Linked DNA regions of Homo sapiens: region 2 is linked to region 1. Evidence: promoter capture Hi-C in 16 types of primary human blood cells and fetal thymus (Javierre and others, 2016). All regions are on one chromosome and are shown on one strand. The core of a region is centred on a gene start or on the middle of the fragment in contact, and the rest is flanking DNA. Distances in the headings are between cores, read along the strand shown.

Region 1 (2,700 bases), core at 179-2,678:
TTTCAGGATCCACAGAGCCGTGTCATAAAATATTTCACACGATATGTATGACAAGAAGCCTGAAGAAGCTATGAATTTCCAGATTGATGTGAAAGAAATCCACTCTGTACCTTGTGCCACACAAACATTTAAGTCAATCATTATTGAGCATCAACTGGGTGTATTCTAGCCCCGGGTTTTATCTTTTTTTTTTAACCTTCCTTGTGGTTGCTTTGTCATATTCTTTTTCTTTTATAAGAAGCACTGTTTGGTAATAGCCACAAGAATTGTGGGGGTGGGGAGACCATTTTTACTAAGAGATAGGGTTGTATCCTGCATAGGCAACATAAGGAATGGTAGCAATTTTTTTAAGAGGCTACACATGTGGAAAGGCCTCCCATTGCTTTATCCTCTCCACTGGATCTCTCCTGTATTCCTTCTGCCTTCCTGTTATTCCTTGCCAAAAGAAATGTTTTTCTGTCATTCTTTGAAGCCATTTTAATTTTGTTCTGGAGTGGGCTCCAATTTGTTTAAGTGTGGGATTGCACGTTGATACAAATAATTACAACTGTTAAAGTTTGAAATAGAGCCCTATTAGGGAAAAACTACAGTTAAAATAAAAGCTTTCATCAGGACAAAAGCTTTTAGGAGGTGGAAGACCCATATGACACTGAAAATTTCATAGTAATTGCCAAAATGCATTTACGAGTTGCTTGTTGCCAACACTTGGTGGGCACTGTGCATAACAGTGATAAACCTCATGGATTTAGCAAGTTAGCGCCACTAGACACTCTCTAAAACACAGCCACAGCGCCAGTATTGGGTTCCAGTGGACAAAGAAAAAGCCTTCTCAAGGGAATGAAACATTCATTTTTCTAATTATTCCCCAGGCCAAAGGTTGAGTGAGTAACTTCCCAGGAAATCCACAAGCCTCAGCTCTGGACTCTTCATCCTCACGCCACTCACTCAGCTACTCTCTGTTTGCAGTAAAAGAACAGAATGGAGCAAGAGTTTTTTAAAATTAGATTATAAAAGACCAAGCTCTGCTGAAATATTGGAGAGGTGGGGATCTGAAGGGAGGGGTGATGTGTCAAAGACTTTCAAGGCTGTATGACCTGATGGAAGATGAAACACAGGAGAAATGAGAGCAGGGATATTGACCAAGGGCCCTCTGATCTGCCGTTGTATTTAAAGCAATGATTCTCCCTCCTTCCCTGGGACCCCTGGGGGTAGATCATCTGAATGCTTGTCTCTTAGGGAAATGGTATGGGGTGGAAAGCGGCGAACGCAGCAAGGGTTCAGGAAATGCCTGGCTTGTGAGTGGAGGAGAGGATTCTAGCAACTCTTCATGCTTCCAAGTGATGTCATTGGGAAACCAATCCTGGAGAAAGGGGGCCGTCGCTGATAAAAATCACTGTGGAGAAGATGGCCTAGAAGATCCCGAATCTTAGTCCTCATGCGCCCCCTCGTGTAGGATGTGGGGTAGTGCCTTGGTTGCTGGGTGGTGAAAAATCTGTCATTCTCAAGGGACCACCGTTGGAGAAAAAGGGACGTTGAGGGGGAAATGCATGAGAAATAGAATAAAGTTAAGTAATGAGTTAATTTTGCAGTTGTGACAATTGTAGGCTACAAATTAATAGTTGATTTAAAAAAGCAAGTAGCTTTGAAAGCCCAGGACTAAAATGCGAAGAAACTGAGCAGAATCGCCACTGTGTAGACCAGAGCTTCTCAAACTTCAATGTGCATATGAATAATCATCCTGGGAGCTTGTTAAAAATCTAGATTTTTTATTTACTAGTTCTGGACGGGGCCCTCGATTCTGTACCTTTAACAAGCTCCCAAGTGGTGTAGAGGATGCTGGTCCGTGGACCACACTTTGATAACACTTGCAATAGTGTGCAGGACTGACCTGTCCCCTCAGATAAGCCTGTTTGTATTGGAGGGTTCTGAAGTTCAGCTAGAACTTCTATCTCCACCAGATCTCCCAGGATCCCTGCTAGCACACTATACAGTAATTCCTTCATTTATTGGTAGTGCGGTAAATTTGTCAGCTCAAAGATAATTACCTTTTATTTCCTGAACTTAAGTAGCATTTACCAATAGCACTTACTGTTTGTAATGTTGAATTGTTAATTGCTATATATTACCTTGTGATTTCAAGAGTTTATTTTGTTTTTGCAATGAAGTGGTCCTGCATAGTTTAGGGTGTTTAAGAGACAATTACAGAATTAGTTGATTGGCTTCTACTATAAGCTTTGATTTGAAAAAATTACAAATCTTTCTCCTAAGTGTGAATTTTGAATTTGAGGTGGCAGAGGGAGGAAGGGTTAGGTGTCTGAAGAAAGTGAAGAGAGGATGTCTAGGGATAATTTGGACATCTTGTAGCATTCAAGATAAATATATTCAAAGTTTTACCTAAGGCTTTTCTTAGAGTTAGATGTCTTGTTTTGAATTCGACTTAGGTTCACACTTAAAGTTACTCTATGTAAAAATGTTCAGACATCCTGAGCAGACATAGAACAACAACAAATGGATTTGATAACAGAATACAAGATAGAATTAAAGATAAAGTCCTTATGTGCTTTGAAGAAATAAAAGATGAGATTTCAAGTCAAGGAAAATAGATTGTACACCTAGTGACAAGACCTCTTTATTTTCATTTTGAAAGATCACAGAGTGACTACAATATGAAAAGATTGTGTGTAGGCTATCATTTCATGC
Region 2 (2,700 bases), core at 82-2,581, 760 kb before region 1:
GAAACTCTGTTCTTGATTTTAAGTACTTTTGTAAACATAGCATGTAATAAGTGATGAGACTATTTCTCAAAAACTCAAGTTCTAACAAATTTCCTCTTTTATAGTTCCTAGATGTCCTTTTCATATAATTCACAAAACTTTTATTCCCTCCTTCAAATCCCTGAATATTATCACATGAGCATTGTATGAGGGAAAAGCGTCTCAAGATTTTTATCTTATCTGTTTCTAAATCTCCTCTGGGCCTGTGCAACTCAGTTATGTCAGCTAGATTACAATGATCCCAACCTTGAAGATCCTGAGGAAGATTGCACAACATCCCTCAAGCATTTTTCTTACTGCCATAGTTTGTATTCTAAAATGGCAGAAACAGAGCTAAAATATTGATTTGTTTTTCTTTATCTAATCCATATCTTTCAGTCCTTTAGGACAACTGCGCTGTTTTCAAAAATTCAAATCGACTTTAACCACCACCCGAAGTGCAGCCTATAGGTAACTTCCCTAGATTATTATTAAACTCCTGAGAAGGGTGAGAGCCAAAGTATCAAGAGTGCCAAGGAGAAATGCAGAATCTCACAGGAAAGCAGAATTTTTTTTAAAAAGTTCCTGTAAGAGAATGGTGCCTTGAAACAGAAACTTAAACTGTGATGAGTTCTCCAAAGGTCCGTGAGAAAAAAGGATAGGTGAGAAACAGAGTTAAGAGTCGGTGACAGGGCAAAGGGCACAGAGGCATTTCTCAACTGCAGAGATGGGAGAACCCTGGAGGTTGGCCACCTCCCTTTTCATCCCATGGTTGATCGAACTCCCTCTACATATCCCAGACTAGGATCGCCCGGCCTGTCCTTATTTTAGAAGAAGTCACCTCTCCCACCCCCTTCTCCCAATGCCCCCTTTCAAGCACGTTGTCACCCACCTCCAAGGACCGTGCCCAGGAAGATGCATTTCTTTTTGTGGCGTTTCAGAAAATTCCATACAGACCTCAGCATCTTTAGGCCCTAGGGGTGTGGGCTGACTAGGGGTGAGGGACTGCTTCACCAGGAAACTGTTTCTTCGTCACCTGGCCCAGATGACCCAGCAAGAGCGCCGTCGTCCCGTTCTGTGCTCTCCCGAAATCACAAACGTGACTTTCCGCAGAGACTGTCACCGGAGCGGCAAGGGGGCGTGGACTACAGCAAAGCAGCTACGCTTTCTGCCGCTGCCGCCGCGCAGCCGCCGCCGCTCACTGGTCCGACAAGCCCAGGTCCGTTCAGAAATAGCTCCCGAGTGCCTTTTCATTAGACTACCCCCGGAAACGGGGTCCCGGGCCCGCCGCGTTCCGCTGCCCGCGCTCCTCCTCTGCCGCGGGCTCTGTAGCTGAGTGGTGGCTGGGTATGGAGGCGAAGGCGGCACCCAAGCCAGCTGCAAGCGGCGCGTGCTCGGTGTCGGCAGAGGAGACCGAAAAGTGGATGGAGGAGGCGATGCACATGGTGAGGAGCCCGGGAGGTAGATGCTGCGGGGTGGGACCTTTCTCCAGCCCTCAACCCGACCCCGGCATTTGAGCAAACGTTCTTTCTCGTCACCATAATTTTTATGGCAGTCAGATGTTCTGGGTGAACAACTGGCTTTACTGCCTCGAAACTTTCTGTAGCCCATTCTCACAGTGGCTCTGGGCGAAGGAAGGGGAGGAAATACACAAATTATTTGTTTCATTGCGGTGGAGTATGCTGCAGACTTAACATTCTGTCGCCGGCTGGCACGTGCTGCCTCCCTTTCCTTTCTGTGGTCACACACTCTCCAATCTACAAAGTCACATTATTTGAGGTTTTGGCCCTTGGAACATGTCCAGCAGAAGGAAGGAAACTGAGAACGTTTCTGGTAGAGAGCAGTATGGAAACAAGTCCCTGTACAATCGGCGTCTCGCATTCATTCATTATTTCCTCTGCCCTTTTACTTCCTTCCCTCACTCCCTTCAGGACTGCGAAATAAAGGGGGCTTTCAACAGAATGCTGTGTGCTAGCGAGCTTCTTAACTGGGAAAAAAAGTTTGTTTGTAAATATATGTATTTACATTTTAATAACTACATACAGCCACGTGCCACACAATGACCTGTCGGTAAAGGTCGTTATCCTGGAGCATTAAATCTACTCACCTTAGCCCTATTGTCCCATCCAAGTACTAACCAGGCCTGACCCTGCTTAGCTTCCGAGATCGGGGGACATTCAGGGTGGTATGGAGGTAGACAACCCTAGTTTCTATGTAGACTTCTGGGCTAAACACTTTCGCTACCTTTTAGGTTGACCCTGGGCTAGCACATGTAAATACATTTACATACGTTTACAAACAAACTTTTATCCCAGTTAAGAAGCTCGCTAGCACTTTTCAGCTCCATTATAATCTTATAGGACCACATATACAGCGGTGGTGCTATAGGATTATAATGAAGCTGAAAAGTTCCTGTTGCCCAGTGACATGTAGCCCTCCTAACAAGTACTTTTTTTCCTTTAAGACCTTGAAGAAACTTGTATATGCTAAAACCCAAGAAGCAGCTGCCTCCTTAATCCTGTGTAGGAGGACGTAAACTATGGAATCACATCCCTAGGTGTTTATAATACAATTAAGAGACAAAAAATGTCAAAGCCAGAGAGGTCTAGAAATTCTTTGAAAACATCTACATGTTTAAAAAGATACAAAGTAGCATGGCCAGATGCAGTGGCTCATGCCTGT

The links. The method cuts DNA at HindIII sites, captures the fragments that hold promoters and counts their contacts. A CHiCAGO score of 5 or more calls a contact.
Region 2: the fragment with the promoter of ADAT2 here is called in contact with a fragment that was not itself captured in region 1 in 13 of 17 cell types (M1 macrophages, total B cells, naive B cells and 10 more); the score reaches 10.6 in M1 macrophages.

The regions. Positions count from the first base shown.
Region 1 is chr6:142,691,791-142,694,490 of GRCh38, reverse strand. No RefSeq gene overlaps it. Among named protein-coding and RNA genes, the nearest start is that of HIVEP2, 250 kb to the left of the region's middle. The HindIII fragment of the contact is 1,612 bases long and covers 623-2,234 here.
Region 2 is chr6:143,449,326-143,452,025 of GRCh38, reverse strand. ADAT2 (adenosine deaminase tRNA specific 2) reads left to right here and starts at 1,331. Exons shown (of 6, transcript NM_182503.3): 1 at 1,331-1,463. The coding sequence starts at 1,368. It overlaps PEX3 (peroxisomal biogenesis factor 3), which reads right to left and starts at 1,221. Exons shown (of 12, transcript NM_003630.3): 1 at 911-1,221. The coding sequence starts at 983. It also overlaps the pseudogene RNA5SP221. RefSeq lists enhancers at 1,381-1,540, 1,343-2,325 and silencers at 2,081-2,160, 2,221-2,300. The HindIII fragment of the contact is 8,229 bases long and covers 1-2,700 here.